Linked DNA regions of Homo sapiens: all the other regions are linked to region 2. The links are contacts of gene promoters, found by promoter capture Hi-C in blood cells and fetal thymus (Javierre and others, 2016). All regions are on one chromosome and are shown on one strand. Each heading gives the region's core, a stretch centred on a gene start or on the middle of the fragment in contact. The rest is flanking DNA. Distances are from core to core; before and after follow the strand shown. Region 1 overlaps LINC03036 (long intergenic non-protein coding RNA 3036). Region 2 holds the start of INPP5F (inositol polyphosphate-5-phosphatase F). Region 3 overlaps EIF3A (eukaryotic translation initiation factor 3 subunit A). Region 4 overlaps CACUL1 (CDK2 associated cullin domain 1). Region 5 has its middle 3.4 kb from the start of DENND10. Region 6 has its middle 3.9 kb from the start of GRK5. Region 7 overlaps SFXN4 (sideroflexin 4).

Region 1 (3,346 bases), core at 723-3,222, 700 kb before region 2:
CTGGGAAAGGTAAGGAAACAGGTTCCCCGCCAAGAGCCTCCAGAGGGAATTCAGCCCAGTGAGACCCACTGTGGACTTCTGACATCTAGAGCGCTGAGAAAATCAGTGTGTTGTTTTCAGCCACTATATGGGTGGTAATTTGTTACAACCGCAACAGGAAGCGAACCTGCCCCCACCAAGTGTCATCGCCTGTTTACTTGTCTGTCTGCCCAATTCGAGTGTAAGCTCCATGAGGTCAGAAGTACGTCAGTCTTATTTGCCACTTATCCCCAGACCTTGATGGTAAATAAATGAATTTTAGAGATGGAAAGGGCCAAGAAATCACTTAGGCCAGCCCAATTATTTTAAACTGAAATTTAAAACTAAGATCCAGAGACAGGAACTGATTTTGCTCGAGGCTACTCAATTTATACAGAGCTTGGATCCTCCATCCGCTCCCTGGGGCCCACCTGCCTTCTGGTCACTAAGCCGTAGAAGCCTGAAGACAGACACAACTGTGGAGAGGCAGCTCCGAGCACACAAAATCCCTGGAGAACTCAGGACGGCTGGGAGAGGATCAGTGCAAATCAGATAAGACCAGAAGAAGATGGCTAAAATGACTTGAGCAATCTTTAAAATGTTAGTCCCGGCCCAGCGAGGTGGCTCACGCCTGTAATCCCAGCACTTTGGGAGGGTGAGGCGGGCGGACTGCTTGAGCCCAGGAGTTCTAGACCAACCTGAGCAACATGGCAAAACCCCATCTCTACTAAAAATATGAAAATTAGCCAGGCGTGGTGGTGCATGCCTGTAGTCCCAGCTACTCAGGAGGCTGAGACAGAAGAATCGCTTGAACCCAGGAGGCAGAGGTTGCAGTGAGCCAAGCTCGTGCCACTGCATTCCAGCCTGGGCGACAGAGCAAGACTGTCTCAAAAATAAAGTTAAATGTTAGTCCCAAGGGGCAGCTGATCCACCAGTAACAACCAGGGCAGAACTGTGCCCAGCACCTGATCAGCTGAATTCAGGAGACTCTCCACCTGAAGCTTCAGAATGGGGAAACAAGAAAAGGGGTACTAATGTCAAACTTGAGGCCCGCCTTCAAGAAGCTCAGCATTTCACACCTCGGCCAGAGCCAAAGCTTTGGGCTTTGAGCAAATTAGGAAAAGACACTTCTTCCACAAGGTATCTTTTTCCATCTGTCAGTGAAGTGTCATAATATACTGATTTCGTTAGAAGATACTTTACTCAAGGTCGGCCAGAAAATGATCACAGAGTTACTATGTCTATGAAGTAAAGGTGCCCCCTTAGATGGGAAGCGGTTGTGCAGTACACAACCTGCAGAACTGTACACAACCTGCAGAACCACACATAGCATTCTTTGCTTGGCAGTCTGGTCCCATCCTTTCCACAGCCCTCATATCCCCGCTTCCCCTCCCTCTGCCTAGAGCCCTCAGACCTGTTGGAGAACAGTCTCAATCTACAGGTTACCATTTTACATGTAACTCCTTCCTGTCAGCTTTTTACTTCCCTCCCCCTGCAGACAGCAGGGATTGACGACGGGTGAGAGAAGGCTGATGGCCCCATTTAGGGAAGCACAGGAGGAGGTGGGGAGGCCGGATGTAGTGAATTCCAAATGAATGAGTATCCACGGGCCAGGGGATGATCAAGGAGGTGTGAGGGTTAACAGTGCGGGCCTTGAAGAAATGCCACCTACCAGCTAGCTGTGAGCTGCTGGGCATGCTTTTAGCCTCCCAAAACCTCATTTTCCCTTTTGTGAAATGCTTATCATTGTAGGCCTGCTGGGAGGATTTCAGAAATGATATGAGTGAATGCTTAGTGCACGGTAAGGGCTCAGCACCTGTGAGCTACTGTTATTGCTATTATCAGCATCATCAGCCCAGGGACATCTGCCCTTCCGCCTGTCAGCCTCCAGGCAGCTCCTGCTTTAAACAAAATTGGGACACTCCAGATTTCTAAAAGAAAACCACATGGCAGGGAGGAGGGCAAGTGCTGGAGGGAGAAAGGATTACTCACTTTACCAAAGTACCCACTACTGGATAAACAGAAACACCCAGACTGCTTTTAAATGGGGTTGGTTTTGTTCAGGGGACATTGCTGACACGGACTGGAATGTGTCCTCTCCTGCCCCTGCCGCTGTGTGTTGCTGGCCAGTCTCCCGCACATCTGGACCCCAGAAGTCCCAAGAATGACCGGGTGCATCCAAGGAGGCACAAACCCAGGTTCGGGGAGTGAGAGAAAAATGGGTGCAAATCTCAGTCCTGCTGCTCCTGAGCTTCTCAGCCTTGGGCTCCATGCTGAGCTTTGCCCCCGTCTCCAACAGGTCACCAGCGCACCTGCCTTGCGGGGCAGGGTTGGGGGTGGGGGGCACATGGAATAGTGCATGTCAAGCACCTGGTGCTGATGGTGGTGGTATTATTACCAGCTGGGAGACTTTAGCCCAAGGCAGGGGGTGTGAGATGACACCACGGCACCCGTTTCCCATTCTCCGCATCCCCTTCCAGCCTTGTCCACACACAGAGAATTCTGACATGGTCGTCACCTCCACCTGGCCAGAATATGGTAGCCTACCTTTTCGACAGAATAACCAAATGTATTTTTTTTCACAGTATTACATGTTTCATTTAGAACAAGGGTGTCCAATGTTTTGGCTTCCCTGGACCGCAATGGAAGAACTGTCTTGGACCACACATAAAACACACTAATGACAGCTGAAGGGCTTAATTAAAAAAGGTCTGTGCATAATCTCATAATGTTTTAAGAAAGTTTACAAATTTGTATTGGGCCGCATTCAAAGCTGTCCTGGGCCACATGAGGCCACCTGGCCACAGGTTGGACAAGCTTGATTAAGAATGAAGTCAACTGCACGTATAAAAGGATACCTGGACGTGGTGTGGTGGCTCACGTCTGTAATCCCAGCACTTTGGGAGGCCAAGGCAGGTGGATCACCTGAGGTCAGGAGTTCAAGACCAGCCTGGCTAACATGGTGAAACCCTGTCTCTACTAAAAATACAAAAATTAGCTGGGCATCGTGGTGCATGCCTGTAATCCCAGCCACTCGGGAGGCTGGGGCACCAGAATCGCTTGAACCTGGGAGGTGGAGGTTGCAGTGAGCCGAGATCATGCCACTGCACTCCAGCCTGGGTGACAGAGTGAGACACTGTTTCAAATAAATAAATAAATAAAAGGATACCTGACTTGAAGTGGCTGAAATAATAGAGATGTTATAATTATCTCGTGTAACAAGTCACCAAGTCATCAACAAAAATATCACTAAGGTTTGTTTTTTGTTTTAACTTTTCTGGTAAGCCATCACCTTGCGCCAGCTTTGTGTCCTTAAGCCTTATCACCT
Region 2 (3,187 bases), core at 71-2,570:
GAATAACTAGTCATGTGGAACTCCTTCCTGCTTTTGTACCCTCTCACTTTTACTTGAGCAGAAGGTTAAAAGTATTGCTTTCTGAGAAGTCCCATTCGGTCACTCCTCTCTCTCGCAAGAGAGACAGCTGTTCTCCCTTTTCTTTTGCCTATAAACTTCCGCTCCTAAACTAAAAAAAAAAAAAAAAAAAGTATTGCCTTATTTTTCTCATCTCCTACTTCTTGTCTTTTTCTCTTGTTTCCGATTCAGGCATTAGAGAAGGCAAGGAGTTAGGAGTAGGAAGACTCAATGATTTATAGAACTGGGGGTGTCATAAAAGGTCATTAGTTCAACCACCATCTGAGACCAAGAGACTTCCCCAAGATCACACAGCTAGATAGTCCTCGAACTGGCCCCGGAAGTGGGGGCCTCATTCTCCAGACCCATTCTGTTCAGGATATCAACTGGTTTTTCAAGACAGACTGAGCTCAAGGATGTTTGGGGGAGACTCCTCCTTCCCCGAGAGGGTCTCCATTCATCTTATCCTCGCCAAACGATATTCCTTCCGCTTGCTTCATTAACTGGCTCCATTTGTGAAGTCTTCTCCAAACCGCCCTGCTTAATTCGGGACACAGCAGCACCTGTACATTCCTCCCTTCCTCCTCGCTCTTTAGCCGCGTGCTGCTAATGCTTGTGTGTTTTCTATTGTTACATGCTTTCCCTCGTTGATGTGCATTTATTGAATGCCTCCTGTTGTCAAACTTCTAATAGGGAATACGAAAACAGAAGACGCCTCCGCTTGGCTGTGGGCCTGGCTGGGGATGAACCCCTGTAGCCAGGCCCCGGGGTCTCGCCTGGTTTCGGTACGGGCAGGCAGCGCAGGCCCGCGGGGAACGTACCCCGCACCGCTCCGGGAGAGCGGGTGTGGGGTTGGATTCAGGTCTCGGCCTGGCGAAGCGTGAGCGCCTCCCTGCACGGAGGGGAGGCCCCAGCGGTGGGCGCCTGTCCCCAAGGCCGCGCGGAGGGAGGCGGTCAGTCCAGACCGACTCGGCCGAGCTCCCGAGCTGCCACCGGTGACCACGACAGGAAGGCTGGCGCGCCGGGGGAGGGGCCTGGGCAAGAGCGGGAGGGGCGGGCGGAAGGACGAGAGGGAGGAGGAAAGACCCGCGGGGAGGAGCTGGGAGGAGACACCCGGGAGAAGGCGGAGGAAAGGGCAGGAAGCGGGAGGGAGCTGAAAGGAGGAGGAGGCTGAGGGGCGGAGCCGGGCGCTCGGGGAGAGTAGCCAGCAGAGGGGGTGGAGCCGGGCCTGGGGCGGAGCCAGGGAAGGGGAGGAGCGGGGGGGAGAGGCCTCTACGGCCGCCGCTGCCGCCGCCGCTGCCGGGGCGCGTTCTCCTCCTACCGGTCGGGTGCCCCGGGGCGTTCCCTCTGCCGCTGCTTCTCGGCGCGGTTCCTACCCGGCCGCTCCCCGAGGCGCGGGCTCTGGCGGCCTCGACCGACTAGGACGCCCCGTGCGCCGCCCGCGGGCCGCCGCCTCCCTGGGCGCGCGGGGCCAGCATGGAGCTCTTCCAAGCCAAGGACCACTACATCCTGCAGCAGGGCGAGCGCGCGCTGTGGTGCAGCCGCCGCGACGGCGGCCTCCAGCTCCGACCCGGTGAGGCTGGCGGTGCGGGCGGGGGGCACCCCGGGCCAGGGCGGGGAGAGGAGGGGGCGCGGCCGGACCCCTCAGCCGGGCGGGAGGAGCCGCCTGCGGGCCTGGTGAGGCGGGGCGGGGCGGGCTGCGAGCGCGCGAGCTGTCATTATTCCCTGACTGGAAGGAGCCTGGCCTTTCTCCGAGACAGCGCCGAGCCCCTACCCCAGTGCGGAGCAGAAGGGGCTGGCGACCCTCGTCCTTCCCACCGCGTCACGCGGCCGCCCTTGGGGCTTGGGGCCCAGGCCGAGGGGAGGGGGTCCCCTCCGGCAGAAAGTTCCAGCAAGGTGCACCTGGCCGTAAAGGCCTCTTCCTCCTTGGAGTAGTTCTTACATGGCCTTCGCCAGAAGTTCTGGGTTCGAATTCCGATCTGGAGCGGTTGCGCCAGTTCCGTCTAGGGCTCTGCTGGACACTCACTCCCTGTTGCCATCCCGTGTGTTCTTGGTCCCTTATTATTAAAGGTGTGACTTTACTGTGGTTACCTCATAGGCACTCGGTTTAAAGCCTTTGTCTTTGACTTTAATACCACAGCACAATTAAATTGTATTGTAATGTATAATTTTGAGATTTTTGTGTGACTTGATGTTGTGCGACACAAAATGTATTGTGGGTCCATGTTTGGGTGTCATGTAAGCTGTTCGGAGAGGCTTAAGTCTGCAATTAGCTTGCTTTAGGAAAATGTGTGTGCAGTCGTGGTTTAAACAGAGCAGTCCCTGCCCTCAGAGCGCTGACAGTCCAGTTTCTTGTAAGATGGGGCTGGGTGGCACCTGCCCCTTTTGGCTTGCTAATCCTTTCCTCATATCACTCAGAGATTCTTCCACTTTAGGGAAAGCGAGAGGATAGAGTTCTTTAAGGAAGGAGCCAGAGCTTTTCAGACTTACTTGTAATTCTTATGTGCAGTCTAGACAGAAGGATTACATGATATGAATTGAAAAGGATAAAAGGTTCAGATGAGCTTTTCAGATCACAGCGTGGTATCACTTATAGGATGGTTTTTAAGGACAGGCCCTTTAACATATTATTTCCAATCCCCACAGCAACCTTACAGGACACGTGTGGGATCCTCTTTTTCAGGTGAGGAGAAAGGAGTGAGAGGTTATTAGTAACTCGTTCGGGGTCACAGCCTAGAGTTGAGACACTGACACAGGGCAGTTCTGTGACCTCCAGAACACTTTTGGGCAGGCCCCACTGCTTTCTTAGGAAGGCCTACTAGTTGCTTTGCCAGAGCAGTGAAGGATAACTTATTTTTTTCCTCAGGCTCTGTCTATATTTTCTTGCTATTACGTTGTATTTCCTCTTTTCAGAATGGAGGATAAACTCCTTGGCCCAGATAAAGTTCTTGATGATCTCGGGATAGAGTTATTATGGATAGGCTAATTTTGGCCAGTCTTCTGTCATTCTCTTCTCTGATTTGACCATTTGTCTGGCTTTCTCCCCTTCCCTCCTTTCACTCCCCCAAATTTGGGTAAGGCTTCAGTACAGCTTGAAGTAAAGCAGATTTCAAAATTCCTAGGTTGTCAA
Region 3 (3,585 bases), core at 465-2,964, 680 kb before region 2:
CGAGACTCCGTCTCCAAAAAAAAAAAAAAAAAAAAAAATTAGCCATGCATGGTGGCATGTGCCTGTAGTCCCAGCTACTTGGGAAGCTGAGGCAGGAGAATTGCTTGAACCTGGGAGGCAGAGGTTGCAGTGAGCTGAGATCATACCACTGCACTCCAGCCTGGGAGACAGAGCAAGACTCCACCTCAAAAAGAAAAAAAATGGTAATAGACGCATGTCACAAACATGTATACAACTGCTCACGAATAATAAAGTGTGAAACAATAAGCAGGCCCAGGACTAAGAAAAAAAATGAGGCTGGGCGCAGCGCCTCACACCCGTTATCCCAGCACTTCACTTTGGGAGGGAGAGGCAGAAGGATAACTTGGGCCCAGGAGTTTGAGACCAGCCTGGGCAACATAGCGAAACCCCGTCTCTCCAAAAAATAAAATATTAGCAGGGTGTGGTGGCATGCGCCTGTAGTCCTAGCTACTCAGAAGGCTGAAGTGGGAGGCTCCCTAGGGTCCGGGAGGTCAAGGTTGCAGTGAGCCATGACTGCACCACTGCATTCCAGCCTGTGCAACAGAGCAAGACCCTGTCTCAAAAAAAGTAAAGTAAAATGAGTTCCTCCTTGCATAATCTCTCAGTTGGCAAAAATAAATATATAAAGTACATTTTGGTTTCAATTATTTATTTTTAAAAGGAGGCTGGTTCCCAGTAAAACCTGAAAAATACACCAATACTGAAAGCATGAGTACAGGAAGAGCCTTCAAAGAAGCAGTCATCGAAGCAGAAGGAAAACAAAGAGCACATCACTAAAGAAGAGAGGGGTTGGGTTATTTATGTTTTGGATGGTGGTATTCTGAAGGCAAACTTTTGACAGCGAAGTCACTGCAAATGATACTGAAGGAAAGATGAAAGACCAGTTTATCTGGAAAATAACAATACAGCCCTGATATTTATCCATCAGAATTTCACTTTTACAGGTGAACACTTAAGCATATTCTAGGAAATAGAATTTTACCTGGCTTGACTAATGGTCTCCAAGGACCAGGTCTTGAGTCATCACCCCGTCTGGGAAACCGATCATCATCAGCACGTCTTGAAAGGCGATCATCATCCATGTTTCTCCAAGGGCCCCTGTCATCCTCTGCACCACGCCTGGGAATTCTGTCATCATCGGCGTTCCTCCAAGGTCCTCGATCATCATCCAACCCTCGCCTGGGACCCCGGTCATCATCCATGCCTCGCCTGGGACCCCGGTCATCATCCATGCCTCGCCTGGGACCCCGGTCATCATCCATGCCTCGCCTGGGACCCCGATCATCATCCAACCCTCGCCTGGGACCCCGGTCATCATCAGCATTACGCCAGGATGATCGCTCATCATCAGCGCCTCCTCGCCTCGGCCCCCGGTCATCATCCATCCCACGTCTTGGTCCTCTGTCCTCATCAGCTGTTCGCCAGCTTCCTCTGTCCTCATCCAGTCCTCGTCTAGGTGGTCTGTCATCATCCGCATGACGCCAGTTTCCCCTGTCTTCATCGGCAATTCGTCTGGGAGGCCTGTCATCATCTGTGTTACGCCAGGAAGGCCGGTCATCGTCTGCCCCACGACGAGAGAACCTATCTTCCTCAGGACCACGTCTAGGGCCTCTGTCATCATCCATGCCACGCCGGGGAACCCGATCATCGTCTGGTCTAAGAGAGGGCTCTCTATCTTCATCATCCCCCAGACGCCGGGGCCGCTCTTCATCTCTTCTATGAGACCTGTCCTCATCTCGCCCTTCTCCACGTCTCCACTCCCTACACAGCAACAAGAACAATTAAAAATATATAAAATAAAAAAGCATATGATCCTTTGGGGATTTTTTTTTTCACATGCTTTTTAAAAACTTCAGTATGGGCCGGAGCAGTGGCTCGCACCTTTAATCCCAGCACTCTGGGAAGCAGAGGCAGGCAGATCACCTGAGGTCAGGAGTTCAAGACCAGCCTGGCCTGGCAAAACCCATCTCTACTTAATTGTAAGACATGCGGCTGGGCACAGTCGCTCACACCTGTAATCCCAGCACTTTGGAAGGCCAAGGCGGGAGGATTGCTTGAGCCCAGGAGTTTGAGACTAGCCTGGGCAACATGTCAAAACCCCATCACTATAAAGAATATAAAAATTCACCAGGCGTAGTGGCCCACACCTGTAATCCCAGCACTTTGGGAGGCCGAGGCAGGCAGATTTCTTGAGGTCAGGAGTTCAAGACCAGCCTGGCCAACATAGTGAAACCTCGGGTCTACTAAAAATGCAAAAATTAGCCAGGCGTGGTGGTGCATGTCTGTAATCCTACTTGGGAGGATTACAAGTGCCTCCCAGCTACTTGGGAGGCACAAGAATTGCTTCAACCCAGGAGGCGGAGGCTGCAGTGAGCCGAGAACGCGCCACTGCACTCCAGCCTGGGTGACAGAGCTAGATTCTGTCTCAAAAACAAAGAAACAAACAAACAAAATTAACCAGGCATGGTGGAGCGCACCTGTGGTCCCAGCTACTCAGGAGGCTGAGGCAGGAGGATCACCTAAGCCCAGGGAGGTTGAGGCTGTAGTGAGCCGAGATCGCGCCACTGCACTCCAGAGTGAGACGCCATCTCAAAACAACAACAACAACAACAAAAACAACAACACAGGCCAAGTGCAGTGGCTCATGCCTGTCATCCCAGCAATTTGAGAGGCTGAGACAGTCAGATCGCTTGAGGTCAAGAGGTCAAAGCCAGCTTGGGCAACATGGCAAAACCCCATCTCTACTAAAAATACAAAAAGTAGCCAGGTGTGGTGGCACACACCTGTAATCCCAGCTATTCGAGAGGCTGAGGCACTTGAACCCAGGAGGCAGAGGTTGCAGGGAGCCGAGATAGCGCCACTGCACCCCAGCCTGGGCAGCAGACCCAAAAAAACAAAATACAAACCCACACGCAATCAGACATGCACACAATTCTTCATGGCTCTCCTTTCCCTGCCTCTACAAAATGAACCAAATTTTAAAACCACTGATAAGATATTAACAGGAACTGGAGCGGCATTATTTTCCTCAACTCTACTTACTTCTCTGGCGGGCCTCTTCTCCACTCAGAATCTGCTTCAGGTCCTTTTCTCCAGGTGCCTTCTGAATCTCTATCTCCCCAACGAGAGTCCTCCATTGACAAAGTGAAAAAGAAGCATTACATTGGTAACCATTTACTATTACAACTACTGGTATTACCATTCAAATATTTTTTGTACTTATAACAATATGAAGCCCTTAAATAAGCAAGTTTTAAAATTTCATTTATTTTTTAATCTGAGATCAGACTGACGCTACAGGGAAACTGGTAGTCTCATATATTGTAGGTGGCCTTACAAACCGATATAACACTGTGCTGGAAAGCAACCTGGGAACATACACCTCTACAGATTTCCTTCAACCTAGAAATCCCCTTTGAAGAATGTGAAAAAAGCCACATGCCCTGAAATGGACATCACAGTGCCTACGAAGCAAAGAAAGGTGGAGACATTTTATTTAATGTCTAATGGGGGTGGTTAAATTAACAGTACTTCTCTATTCAAAGTACTCTGATGGGCCGGGCG
Region 4 (3,185 bases), core at 276-2,775, 1.0 Mb before region 2:
TAGGGTCCTGGTCTCTCACAAAAAATATGGTAATTTCTAAATGTTTCCATAGAATTTTCCAAAACTATTCAGAATATTATTTACTGAATTGGTAAACCAATTTACTCTCTATAGTCATCTATTTCCATTCACTGGTATAGGAAAATACCAGAATTGGAAATGTACATTTTGAGGCTCTGGAGATACAGAAAAATAAAAATAAATAGAACTTCGTTATTACTTTTAAAGAAAGAACAGCCGGGAGTGGTGTCCCATGTCTGTAATACCAGCACTTTGGGAGGCCAAGGCAGGAAGATCACTTGAGTCCAGAAGTTCAACACCAGCCTGGGCAACATGGTAAAACCCCACCTCTACAAGAAATACAAAAATTAGCTAGGCATGGTGGTGCACACCTGTAGTCCCAGCTACTTGGGGTGCTGAGGCCGGAGGATCATTTGAGCCCAGGAGGTCAAGGCTGCAGTGAGCCAGCATCACACCACTGCACTCTAGTCTAGGTAACAGACTGAGACACTGTCTCATAAATAAATAAGAAGAGCGGAGTTAATAAGGACGAGAAAAGAGCCTGGTTTAAAAAAATTAAGGCAAAAGATACTGTTCACAATTTTGAACAATCCAGCAGTAAGTTAAAATGTATAGATACACATGCAGTGAAATATAATAGTAAGGAGAACACTAAGGGGACTTAGCTATTTGTTTTATTAGTTTAACAACACAACAAAAAAAACTTTAAAGTGCCTGAAGTAAAGTAATTTTTTCCAAAATGAAAGAAATGTGTTTAAAAACAAAAAAGAGGCAGCAAGTTAGATTATGCTGTCATGTAAAAAATATTTACATTCAACAAATTATTCTAAAATCTCTAAAAACCATGTTCTCTAGTTTTTACGTCAACACCAAAAATAACTGGAGAATATGGGAACATTATTTTATATACTCTTCAATCTCCCCAACAGGATATGCCTTGGGATAAAAATAAATAAGTCCCTCTGACATATAAACTATACAAACCCACAGCTATTTTAAGATGCCCTTGACTGAGGCTGACGCCCTGTAGGTCCAAATCATTGATTTATCAACTCCAGCACTAAATTTCTGATTATCTGCCAAATGCAACTCCTCCCACGCTCTTATTTTGGCTCATAACAACAATATTTCATTATGAAAACCAGAGCTGCAAACAAAATGCTCCATCCAAATAAAATGTTTCTGGCTCATAAAGCCTGGCACCGTCTCTTGATCTGTCCCCATGAAAACTGCCTTAAGGTCTCTATAAAATAAAGATTACATCAGGCCACACACATCACACTGAACAAATAAATAAAATGCTTACAAATCTAGAGAGCACAGGAGTAGTGGTCATCTGAAGCTAATTATGCTACTCTTTCCATTAGTACAGGTCACATTTAGTTACTCAGCATTCAGCCAGAACACATCTGCTGAGTTGTAATTGTGGCAGACACTAAGGATAAAAAGACAAACACGATAGAGTCCCTCCCCCTCAAGGAAGGGCCTGTGAAGTAGTCAGACAGGGAAGCAGAAACAATAACACAATCACTGCCCTAATAGACTTCTTATTGCTGAGATGCTATGGATCCACAGAAGAAATGCCAATAGTCTGTTCGGTTTTGAGAGGAGTGCAGGAGTTCCAGGAAGGCTTTACACAGATGGACACAAATGAGCTTAAGCCTAAGAAAAGAATGAAGAAGCATTTGCCAGGCAGGAAGCAGAAGAAAAAATACCTTACACCTTAGTGTAAAGAACTACAGATATTTTAGTAAATCTACTTCCTTTTGATGTCGAGAAAATACCTTACACCTTAGTGTGAAGCAACGAGATAGTCTAGTAAATCTACTTCATTTTAATGTCAAGAAAATTTATAAGATGATATATATTAGCACGTTTAATAAAGAGGCAAACACACAAATGCTGAGTGACAGAGCTGGAAACAGAGCCCTGGATCCCCATGTTTTAAACCACTCCCCGCTGCTATTTAATAATGGTTACAATCGTTATAATCTTATAAAAGGAATCATTTTGAAGCTAGACTTTTCATAAGACCATATTGCTGAACTCTAAGTGGGACATGTATTGATTCTAAAAACAAACTAAATTCCCTGGTTTTATATCATATATCACCCTTTTAAAAAATACTAACATCACGCTGGGCACAGTGGTTCACACCTGTAATCCTAGTACTTTGGGAGGCCGAGGCTGGCAGATCGCTTGAGTCCAGGAGTTTGAGACCAGCATGAGCAACACGGCAAAACCCCATCTCTAAAGCAAAAAACATAAAAAATTTGCCAGGCATGGTGGCATGCACCTGTAGTGCCAGCAACTGGGGAGGCTGGGGTGGGAGGATCGCCTGAGCCCAGGGAGGTCAAAGCTGCAGTAAGCCATGATTGTACCACTGCACTCCAGCCTGGGAGACAGAGCGAGACCCCCATCTCAAAAAAATTAAAAAAAAAAAAAACACTAACATCAGAAGAAATATCACTCTGATTTATGTTTTAATCATTAATAAGAATCATTACTATATTAATATAAAACTAAAAATTATTTGGTTTCATAATAGGCTGTATTAGTAGGGTGAGGGAAAACAGACACTGTGATATATACAGAACTGATGGGAATGCAACTTGATACAACTTCTGTGAACCACAATTTAGACTTAGTAAACGACATTACTTACAAGACTGACTATTCACTTCAGCACTGTTAGTAATGGCCAAAGACTGGAAGTAACCTAAATATTCATCAATCAAAAACTGGTTAAATTAAGGTGTATCAATGAAGTAAGGCAGTTGAGATAAGCATTTCAGTAAAACAGTCGAGAAATGATGATGAACCTGACTAGGGTACTGGCAAATGAACAGAAGTGTGTGACAGAGTCCACAGCGAGACCCGAAGTCCATAAACTGGATTCAGGTAGAAATTCAGGTAGATGGTGGAGTGAAGAATTAGAAAGCAAATCACTCAAAAGCTATAAAGCATAGATCTAGGGTTTCATCAACAATTTATACACAATGCCTAAGCACTAAACATATGTGTTAAATGAATAAAGATTTTATAGTTAGCGGCAAAAAGATGAAGAAAGAAATTTATACTAACAACAAGAAAAGTATATATCTGACTATGACAAAACACAGCTCTATCATTTGAAACAGAAAACAAAATGCTACTTAGTGCAA
Region 5 (3,686 bases), core at 790-3,289, 630 kb before region 2:
GATGCTTTTGCCTCAGCTTCCCAAAATGCTGGGACTACAGGAATGAGCCTCGGTGCCCAGTCCATGAACTATTTCTTTTAATGCAACATAGTAGCCAGGTGTGATGGCTCACACCTGTAAGCCCAGCACTTTGGGAGGCTGAGGTGGGAGGATGTCTTAAGGCCAGGAGTTCAAAACCAGCCTGGGCAACATAGTGAGACTCCCATCTCTACAAAAATAAAATAAAAATAAAAATAAAAATTAGCCGGGCATCGTGGCTCATGCCTATAGTCCCAGCTACTCTGGAGGCTGATGCAGGAGGATTGCCTGAGCCTAGGAGTTCAAGGCCATACTGGGCAACATAAGGAGACCCCATCTCTACAAAAAGTTTTAAAAAATTGCTGGGCATGGTGGCACAAACCTATGGTCCCAGCTACTCGGGAGGCTGAGGTGGGAGAATTGCTTGAGCCTGGAAGGTCAAGTCTGCAGCAAGCTGTGATTGAACGACTGCACCCCAGCTTGGGTGACAGAGCAAGACCCTGTCTCAATAGATAAATGAATAAATAAATAGAAAGAAAGAAAGAAAAAAGAATAATGCAACACAGCTCGAAACCTGGGCTTCTTAGGGCCGGAGAGCTACCCAGCATCCTGAAACCATTGAGAACACAAGGAGGATGACTTCATCTTGGGAATGTTCTGGAAGCCTCACATATGCTAGAAGTCAGGACGGAGTGTCAGAGCAGTTGACTGAATCGCCTTCCAGTTCCCAAGTGAGACTGAATCCCTTAAATTAAAAGAGCTTGGCCAGGCGTGGTGGATCACACCTGTAATCCCAGCACTTTGGGAGGCCAAGGCGGATGGATCACTTGAGGCCAAGAGTTTCAGACTAGCCTGGCCAACATGGTGAAACCCCATCTCTACTAAAAATAAAAAAAAATTAACCAGGCTTGGTGGCACACACCTGTAGTCCCAGCTACTTGGGAGGCTGAGGCAGGAGAATTGCTTGAGCCTGGGAGGCGGAGGTTGCAGTTAGTGGAGATCACACCACTGCACTCCAGCCTGGGTGACAGAGCAAGACTCCGTCTCAGAAAAAAAAAAAGGCTGGGCACAGTAGCTCACACCTGTAATCCCAGCACTTTGGGAGGCTGAGGTGGGTGGATCACCTGAGGTCAGGAGTTCGAGACCAGTCTGACCAATATGGTGAAACCCTGTCTCTACTAAAAATACAAAAATTAGCCGGGTGTGGTGGCCTGCGCCTGTAGTCCCAGCTACTCAGGAGGCTGAGACAGGAGAATTGCTTGAACCCAGGAGGCGGAAGTTGCAGTGAGCTGAGATTGCATCACTGCATTGCGACAGAGCAAGACTCCATCAAAACAAACAAACAAACAAAACAACAACAACAAAAAAAAACTGCCACCCTAATGGCTCCCTTGGCTGACACATGCCCAATCTATGATGGAATCCAATTACAGAAACAAAGATGAAAAAGAACCATATTTGACTCATAGGAACCTGGGATTGGAACACCTGGAAGATGCTGGGGTCCCTTGTGCACTTGTCCATGTGGCCAGACAGTTTAGGCACTTTCCAAATCTGCTTCAGTGCCAGTAACTTACTCTTTTTCTGCAGAGCAAGGAGTGAGCAGGCTGTGCAAAAAAGAATTCACACGACAGGCCTGAGGGTGATATCCATAGAAAGTCTGCTGGCCAGTTTGGCCCTTGGCTGTGCCTGGAAACTTGGACTTCGGCAGTGTTCCCAGCATTTCTAGAACTGATCAAACTGATCAGAGTGACAGACTATGCCTGAACTATTTGTACATACAATGTGGTTCATGAGAGTCTGGAAATCTGGTATGAGCTAGGCAGAGGGTACCTATGTGACTGGCCCCCAGTAAAAACTGAGTTACTTGGTGACTGAGTTCTAACAAGCTTCCCTGGTTGATAAATATCACAAGTATTGCCACAACTTGTTGCTGGAGGAATTAGGTGTGTCCTGTGTGACTCTACCAGGAAATAACTCTTGGGAACTTGGCCCTGGTTTCCTCCAGACATCACCCCATGTGCCTTTTCCCTTTGCTGATTTTGCTTTGTATTCTCTGGCTGTAATAAATCATAGCCCTGAGCTGGGGATGGTGGTTCACATGTGTAACCCCAGCACTTTGGAGCCTGAGGTGGGCAGATCGCTTGAGGTCAGAAGCTTGAGATCAGCCTACACAATATGGTGAGATCACATCTCAAAAAAAAAAAAAAAAAAATAGCTAGGCATGGTGGTGCCTGCCTGTAGTCCCAGCTACTCAGGAGGATGAGGTGGGAGGATAGCTTGAGCCTGGATCAAAGCTGCAGTGAGCCGTGATCGTGCCACTGCACTCCAGCCTGGGTGACAGAGTGAGACCCTGTCTCAAAAAAATAAAAATGTATATCATAGCCATGAGTATAGCTATATGCTGAATCCTGAGAATCCTTCCAACAAATCATTGAATTTGGGGGGTGGTCTTGGGGACCCTTTATATTCTTACCTATAAAATTAGGCTATTCTTATCAATAAAACTAGCATAAAGATTTTCCCTGATTCAAATCTTTATTGGGAGAGTCACGGAGGAAAGTATGGTTAGCTCCATTTGATCACTGAGAAAACATGCACAGAAAAGATAGGAAACATGTGTGAGGTTTCGCAGCTAAGATGGGCAAGGGGGTTGGAACTCAGGTTGTCTGTTTCCACACCCCAGCTCCATCTGTCTGTGACAGCGCAGAGGTCAGTCTTACTTTTAAAGATTGGGGATGCGTCGCCTCTGCTCTCTCCACCCTCTATTCCTTTTCCCTTCACTCTGGTGTACCTGTCTGGCAGGTAAGACAGCACTTGTGGAGAAACAGGAGGGAAGGAGGTGTCAATTCCAGGTATCATCCCACTCACTGGAGCCTGGACACACCCCTCATTATCTTTCCCCTCCCTGCACCCACTATCATCTCCCTCTCCTTTGTTTAATTATCTGTTCATCATCGTCTTCATCCTCATTTCTTTTCTTTTTTTTTCTGAGATGGAGTCTCACTCTGTCGCCCAGGCTGGAATGCAGTGGCGCGATCTTGGCTCACTGCAACCGTCCTCTCTTGGGTTCAAGCCAGTCTGCCTCAGCTTCCTGAGTAGCTGGGATTACAGGCACCTGCCACCATGCCTAGCTAATTTTTGTGATTTTTTGTTTGTTTGTTTTTGAGATGGAGTCTCGCTCTGTCGCCCAGGCTGGAGTGCAGTGGCGTGATCTCGGCTCACTGCAAGCTCCGCCTCCCGGGTTCACGCCATTCTCCTGCCTCAGCCTCACAAGTAGCTGGGACTACAGGCACCTGCCACCACGCCCGGCTAATTTTTTGTATTTTTAGTAGAGACAGGGTTTCACCGTTTTAGCCGGGTTGGTCTCAATCTCCTGACCTCGTGATCCACCCACCTCAGCCTCCCAAAGTGCTAGGATTACAGGCGTGAGCCACCGTGCCCCACCTAGTGCAAGTTTCTAGTTGGCTTCCAAACTGATTCCACATCTGTGTCCCACTCCTCAGCCTCTAAACACCTGCTTCTTTTCTGTGAAAACTAGACACATTAACAGTTATACTACAACAGGAAGCCCAGAGAATAGAAGGGCACGTAGTTCAGGGTGCTGCCTTCCAGGGGTTCAGTTTAGTGAGAGAAACAGGAATGCCATATACACACCTAAATATACT
Region 6 (3,583 bases), core at 958-3,457, 520 kb before region 2:
ATGTGGCTGAGACAATCAGCAGGTGTGTGCATTTCAGCAAGAATCTTCTTTTCTGAACTTGCAGTTGAGAATTGATGCAAGACAAATGATCCCACAAAATCTTGTGACCAAGCTAGGTGGTTAGATGTGTATAGGTAATAATCACCTGGCAAAACCAATCGATTCATTAAGATTGGCCAGTTCATCTGGAAACCAAAGGCTGCAAAGACACCACGTGTTGCTTGGAGATTGGTTTTCTCAAGCATGACACTTCTACTACTCCTCACATTTCACAAATATTATTGGTTAGGATGAATTAAAGTTTTCAAAGTGAGCTGACTTTAAAGAAAAATATTGGCCGGGCATGGTGGCTCACACCTGTAATCCCAGCATTTTGGGAGGCCGAGGTGGGTGGATCACTTGAGGTCAGGAGTTCAAGACCAGCCTGGTCAACATAGTGAAACCCCACCTCTACTAAAAATACAAAAATTAGCCAGGTGTGGTGGTGCGCACCTGTAATCCCAGCTACTCGGGAGGCTGAGGCAGGAGAATCGCTTGAACCCAGGAGGCAAAGTTTGCAGTGAGCCGAGATCATGCCACTGCACTGTAGCCTGGGCAACGGAGCGAGACTCCATCTCAAAAAAAAAAAAAAAAAAGAAAAATATGAAGTCACTAGAAGAGCAATAGGCAGTTTACAACATGTTAAAACTTTTTCTTTTTTTTTTTGAAACAGAGTCTCGCTCTGTCGCCCAGGCTGGAGCACAGCGGCACCATCTCGGCTCACTGCAACTTCTGCCTCACGGGTTCAAGTGATTCTCGTGCCTCAGCCTTCTGAGTAGCTGGGACTACAGGCGCACGCTGCCATACCTGGTTAGTTTTTGTATTTTTAGAAGAGACGGGTCTCACCATGTTGGCCAGGCTGTTCTCGACCTCCTGACCTCAGGTAATCTGCCCACCTTGGCCTCCCAAAGTGCTGGGATTACAGACGTGAACCACTGTGCCCTGCCCATAGTAAAACTTTTAATGTCCAATTGATAACCACTGAGGTCCATTGATGAAGGGAATTCAGAGGGGAGGAAATGTTAACTGGAAACCTCAAGCCTCCAGATTTGCTTTCAGCTCACATTTCTCCTCTTTTGGTGCCTGAAATCACTTCTTCCCGTTTGCAAAGTCCTTTGTGTGTGTCTCCACAATGGCCCTTATTCCATTGTATGGAGGTTGTTTGCATCCGGTGTGTTTTCCTTCCCAGTGGCGAGCTCCCTGGGAAATTGCCTTGAACTCCCTGCAGGGCTGGACACAGAAAGGTAAACTCTGAAGGAGAAGAGGATAAATGAGAGAATGGAAGCTCTATCTGCAGCTGCTTCCTGAGGATTAAAAAGCTTTGAGTCAAGGAAAGGAATGGAAACTCCAGTTCCTGGACTATTCAGAAAGCCAATTTGATTATTCAGGCAAAAGGAATCTATATTTTAGAAGGCCGATAGGTTTGTGGCTTTCCAGCATAGTAGACTTCTATTTACAAGAACTCTGACCCAGCAGCTTTATTCATGGCAGATACAGGTGCTGAGAGAAGAATTTGAAGGTTCCCTGTTTCTTTTGCTTTTTTATTTTTTAGAGACAGTCTTACTCTGTTACCCAAGCTGGAGTGCAGTGGGGCGATCATAGCTCAGTGCCACCATACCTGGCTAATTTTTAGGTTTATTTCGTAGAGACAGGGTCTCGCTATGTTGCCTAGGTTGGTCTCGAACTCCTGGGCTCAAGCGATCTCCACCCCCCCATCCCCTGCACCCTTGCTTTAGCCTCTAAAAGTGCTGGGATTGTAGGCATGAGCCACTGCATCTGACTTCTTTTGCATTTTTGGCTCAGCTGCTCCTGAGTGGAGTCTGAAGCTGGCTGTCTTTGACATATTCCCATCCCTCCATCCTCACCCCCACTCCTCCATTTGGATTTCCCTTCTTGCTCTCAGCTGGCTGTCAATGATTCCCTACTTAGCTATTTATATTTAATAGCCTACTCTTCCTTGAATCAAACCCATTTTTCAAGAAGACCACGAGTTGTTAGTGCAGTTAATTGAAAGGAATAAAGCCATAATGGTGGAATTATAGATGAAAATGGAAAACCCCTTGAAATCTTAATGATTTAGTCAACTGGGTGCTTTGCCTTCTTATAATACAAGTTCATCCCGGCAGCCACACAGAACAGTTACTACCAAGCTGTGCTGGCTAGCTTGCGCAAGCCAGAAATTAAGTGCACCAACTCTGAGTCAGGCTGACAGGTTCAAATCCCGGGTCTTCTACTTATTACTTATGTGACCCTGGACAAATTATAAAACCTTTCTTTTTTTTTGAGGAAAAAAAAAAAGTCTCACTCTGTTGCCCAGGCTGGAGTGCAATGGCATGATCTTGGCTCACTGCAACCTCTGGCTCCCGGGTTCAAGTCATTCTCCTACCTCAGCCTCCCGAGTAGCTGGGATTACAAGGCACCTGCCACTACACCCAGCTAATTTTTGTATTTTTAGTAGAGACGGGGTTTTACCATGTTAGGCTGGTCTCGAACTCCTGACCTCAGGTGATCTGCCTGCCTTGGCCTCCCAAAGTGTTGGGATTACAGGCGTGAGCCACCGTGCCCGGCCTATAAAACCTTTCTTAACCTGGTGCTTTATCTATAAAATAGGCCTGTGTTCCCTACCTCATCTGGATATTGTGTTCAAGGAGATAATCCATTTAAAAGACCACAAGAGCCTGGCCCACAGTTGGTGTTGAGTAAATGCTAGCCATTATTGTTCCATTCTTGCATTGGAGTGTCTGAATTTCCTCATAGAGGCACAAAAACCTGATGTACAACCATGTATTTGTGTAGGCAGGATGCAACAGCTTGTAGTGGACAAAAAAATAGTCTAACACTAACTTGCTGAGTGACCATGCCAACTCACTTACTTTGGGTCTGTTTCACATCTGTAAAATGAGAGGGAGAGGCAGGGGTTCCCAGGATGGAAAACTTAAATGTCTATACAGGCCAGATAAATAAAATCACTAGTGACTTGGGCTGGGTATAAGACAATAGGGAGTTACGGTAAACTAGAAAGCTTTTCAACTCTGAGTGTGGTCTACTGACCACGAGGATCGACAGAGCCCTGGAGTTTGTTAGAAAGAGCAACATCTCAGAAACCACCCCAGATCTATCCAAATGCAATCTGCATTTTAACAAGATCCCCCGTGATTTGTATGCTCATGAAACTTTGAGCCAGGCATGGTGGCTTATGCCTGTAATTCCAGCACTTTGGGAGGCAGAGGCGGGTTGGATCACTTGAGTCCAGGAGTTCAAGACCAGCCTGGCCATTATGGCGAAACCCCGTCTCTACTCAAAATACAAAAATTAGCCAGTCATGGTGGCACACACCTGTAATCCCAGCTACTTGGGAGGCTGAAGTACAAGAATCATTTGAACCTGGGAGGCCGAGGTTGCAGTGAGCCGAGATTGGGCCACTGCACTCCAGCCTGGGTGACAGAGTAACTGTCTCAAAACAAAACAAAACAAAAAAACAAACAAAAACAACCTTTGAGAAAATTGTTTTTTTTTTTTTTTTTTTTTTTTGGTTCGGAGTCTC
Region 7 (2,999 bases), core at 61-2,560, 560 kb before region 2:
AGGATGGGTTGAGGCCAGGAGTTCGAGACCAGCCTCTATTTTGTAGAGGTAGCGAGACCCCCACCTCCATAAAAAATTTAAAGCCAGGTGTGGCGGCATGACCCTGTAGTCCCAGCTACTCAGGAGGCTGAGGTAGAAGGATCAGCTGAGCCTGGGAGTTGGAGGCTGCTTTGAGCTATTATGGTGCTACTGTACTCCAGCCTGGGTAACAGAGCGAGACCCTGTCTCTAAAAATGACAATAATAATAAAGTATGTACATAAAATTACTATAACATGGCCAGGCACAGTGGCTCACGCCTGTAATTCCAGCACTTTGGGAGGCCAAGTGGGCGGATCAGAAGGTCAGGAGTTCGAGACCAGCCTGGCCAACATAGTGAAACCCTGTCTCTACTAAAAATACACAAAGGAAAAAAATTAGCTGGGCATGGTGGCAGGCACCTGTAATCCCAGCTACTCAGGAGGCTGAGGCAGGAGAAATCACTTGAACCTGGGAGGCGGAGGTTGTAGTGAGCCGAGATTGTGCCACTGAACTCCAGCCTAGGTGACAGAGCAAGACACTGTTTCAAAAAAAAAAAAAAAGAAAGAAATCCTGCTGGGGGAGAAATAATTAAAGCAAGGCAGGCAGAGTTTTCTTTTCTTTTTTTTTTTTTTTTTGGACACGGAGTTTCACTCTTGTTGCCCAGGCTGGAGCGCAATGGCATGATCTCAGCTCACTGCAACCTCCGGCTCCCGGGTTCAAGTTCAAGCAATTCTCCTGCCTCAGCCTCCTGAGTAACTGGGACTACAGGCACGTGCCACCACAATGCCCAACTAATTTTTTACATTTTTAGTAGAGACGGGGTTTCACCATGTTGGCCAGGCTGGTCTCGAACTCCTGACCCCAGGTGATCCGGCAGGCAGAGTTTTCTAAGTGTTAGAAACTACATCTTCCCAACCCACTTCTGAAAATTAGAACCAACTCACCTGCAGGTCGAAAAAGCTTGGGGATCAGGTTGCTGCTGTCGGGATGCACTGTTGCCTTCAAAAGGAGAGATGCAAGGTTAGCTGGATGTCTGGTTTTGTTATTATAGGACACTAAAAATTAGGAAGGGGCTGAAACTTACAAGACTCCGCTTCCAAGCTTCTTGTATCTTAAAGGAGAAAAAAGAATAGCTTTGTTTCATTTTAAATTTTTTTTAAGAGACAAGGTCTTGCTCTGTCACCCAGGGCTGGGGTATAGTGGCACAATCATCACTCACTGCAGAACAGCCTCGAACTACTGGGTTCAAACGATCCTCCCACCTCACCCTCCTGAATAGCTGAAACTACAGGCTCACGCCACCATTCCCAACTAGTTGTTTAATTTTTAGTAGAGATGGGGTCTTGCTATACGGCCCAGGCTGGTCTTGCAGTCTTGGCATCAAGTCATCCTCCCAAACCATTGGAATTACAGGGTTAAGCCATCACACCCAGCCTTAAAAAAACAACAACAACAACAAAAAAAAACAAAAAAAAAAAAAAAGCTTTTAAAGGTGGCTCAACAGCAAAGAATTTCTTTGCCTGTCTCATTTCTGGGACCACATTTGTTCTACCTTTCAGAGAGTGAAGGCCAGAGCTGTTATTTACCACATTGACAGAACAAATCAAAATAAATGGATCATATGAATAAACAAATGAACTAATGACAAGCAAAGAGACGAGCCACACAGAGAAATGGACCAGAACATTAAAAAGTCCTGTCTCTACCCTTGGAGAATACCAACACCTAACTTATCCCTCAGATGAGTCCCCGAATCCGGCTTGCCTCTGGCTCAGAGCAGAGCAGGCTGTGTGCTGATGACACACCATGCCATCAGTCAAGTTACTTGCAACAGAGCCAAGCTGTCAGCCCAGGGTCCCCAGCACATTCTTAGAAAAAGTTAAATATGTGAGCTCTCCATAGGCTGTCTTGAGGAGCTGGTGTTTGTGAGCTCCAGAAAGCCCCACATACTGCAAGGTAGATAAGGAACAGTCCGTTTGAGCCTATCGGCAGGAACGCTGCCTGCAGTGGAGAATGAATTCTGACGTCAGAGCCCTGTCTGAATTCTGGGGTTTGCCACTGGGCTCCAGGAATCAGCTGCAGGGAATCCCCACAAATATCCACTGTGTAGGAGGAAACTTGCTGTCTGGTTTATGGGACAGAATTCTAACTACATTTAAAAAACTAACCCAGTTTTGCAAAGCTGGTCCTCTGGGCAGTATATAACAATGACAGCATTAATAGCCAATAGAACAGTGGCTCCCAAGGGAAGGAAAAAAGAAAGAAAAGAGACGGAGACAGAGATTAATGGCCAAATTCCACCTGACTTCAGACCATGCAGGCAGAACCATCTGAGGGCAACCAGCCAGACCTGAGCACGTGAAACATACCCTTTGGTCCGCCGAGGCAGGGCTGGAAACATCTTCATTTGTGCACAATAGTTGCCTCGAGTTTTCTATACTTTCCTAAAATCAGATATCAAGTAATCAAGTAATGATCTCAACATTGTTCAGGTTTATCCCCAGAGGTAGGAATCACCAGCTCACTCACCAGCATGCACTGGACTTCGACTGCATGCCTGATTTCAAGCCACATGGTGCCCTAGGCTCTCTATCCATTAGGATAGCCCTGAGTGCCATTCAGATTTATGCCTTCCTCTTCCTAGATGCTCCAGCAGCTGCCCCCAATGGTGCTGTCACCTCCCCCACTCTCTGATGTCAACTGTCGCACTGAATGGTTACCACCATCCCCTGGCTATACATGTCAGAAACCTAGAAGTCCTTCTCCCTCACCCACTTCCATGTCTTATCAGTTCAGTCTTATTTCCTCTCTTTTTCTTTCTTTCTTTTCTTATTGTTTTTTAAGAGACAGGGTCTCACTCTGTTGCCCAGGCTGGAGTGCAGTGGTGTGATCATAGCTCACTGCAGCCTTAAACTTCTGGGCTTAAGTGATCCTCTTGCCTCAGCCTCCCAAATAGTTGCGACTACAGGCACAACCCAC

Evidence for each region. Contacts are between HindIII fragments. The CHiCAGO score rates a contact against its expected background, and 5 or more counts as called.
Region 1: a fragment that was not itself captured here is called in contact with the fragment with the promoter of INPP5F in region 2 in 1 of 17 cell types (total CD8 T cells); the score reaches 7.0 in total CD8 T cells.
Region 3: a fragment that was not itself captured here is called in contact with the fragment with the promoter of INPP5F in region 2 in 2 of 17 cell types (total CD4 T cells and non-activated CD4 T cells); the score reaches 7.0 in total CD4 T cells.
Region 4: a fragment that was not itself captured here is called in contact with the fragment with the promoter of INPP5F in region 2 in 1 of 17 cell types (neutrophils); the score reaches 11.6 in neutrophils.
Region 5: a fragment that was not itself captured here is called in contact with the fragment with the promoter of INPP5F in region 2 in 5 of 17 cell types (fetal thymus, non-activated CD4 T cells, activated CD4 T cells and 2 more); the score reaches 13.1 in fetal thymus.
Region 6: a fragment that was not itself captured here is called in contact with the fragment with the promoter of INPP5F in region 2 in 2 of 17 cell types (fetal thymus and total CD8 T cells); the score reaches 5.8 in fetal thymus.
Region 7: a fragment that was not itself captured here is called in contact with the fragment with the promoter of INPP5F in region 2 in 1 of 17 cell types (fetal thymus); the score reaches 6.1 in fetal thymus.

The regions. Positions count from the first base shown.
Region 1 is chr10:119,021,470-119,024,815 of GRCh38, forward strand. All of the region lies in intron 2 of LINC03036 (long intergenic non-protein coding RNA 3036), which reads right to left. Among named protein-coding and RNA genes, the nearest start is that of LINC03036, 6.4 kb to the right of the region's middle. RefSeq lists enhancers at 838-1,480, 1,481-2,123, 3,309-3,346. The HindIII fragment of the contact is 1,721 bases long and covers 1,113-2,833 here.
Region 2 is chr10:119,724,730-119,727,916 of GRCh38, forward strand. It overlaps INPP5F (inositol polyphosphate-5-phosphatase F), which reads left to right and starts at 1,321. Exons shown (of 20, transcript NM_014937.4): 1 at 1,321-1,630. The coding sequence starts at 1,534. RefSeq lists an enhancer at 320-369 and a silencer at 980-1,749. The HindIII fragment of the contact is 3,399 bases long and covers 1-3,187 here.
Region 3 is chr10:119,040,991-119,044,575 of GRCh38, forward strand. It overlaps EIF3A (eukaryotic translation initiation factor 3 subunit A), which reads right to left. Exons shown (of 22, transcript NM_003750.4): 18 at 3,064-3,152; 19 at 1,004-1,782. Among named protein-coding and RNA genes, the nearest start is that of NANOS1, 13 kb to the left of the region's middle. The HindIII fragment of the contact is 5,604 bases long and covers 1-3,585 here.
Region 4 is chr10:118,724,951-118,728,135 of GRCh38, forward strand. All of the region lies in intron 3 of CACUL1 (CDK2 associated cullin domain 1), which reads right to left. Among named protein-coding and RNA genes, the nearest start is that of CACUL1, 28 kb to the right of the region's middle. The HindIII fragment of the contact is 5,468 bases long and covers 1-3,185 here.
Region 5 is chr10:119,098,919-119,102,604 of GRCh38, forward strand. No RefSeq gene overlaps it. Among named protein-coding and RNA genes, the nearest start is that of DENND10, 3.4 kb to the right of the region's middle. The HindIII fragment of the contact is 268 bases long and covers 1,906-2,173 here.
Region 6 is chr10:119,201,893-119,205,475 of GRCh38, forward strand. No RefSeq gene overlaps it. Among named protein-coding and RNA genes, the nearest start is that of GRK5, 3.9 kb to the right of the region's middle. The HindIII fragment of the contact is 1,703 bases long and covers 1,357-3,059 here.
Region 7 is chr10:119,159,951-119,162,949 of GRCh38, forward strand. SFXN4 (sideroflexin 4) reads right to left here. Exons shown (of 14, transcript NM_213649.2): 3 at 2,390-2,464; 4 at 1,105-1,131; 5 at 965-1,019. Among named protein-coding and RNA genes, the nearest start is that of SFXN4, 4.3 kb to the right of the region's middle. The HindIII fragment of the contact is 382 bases long and covers 1,120-1,501 here.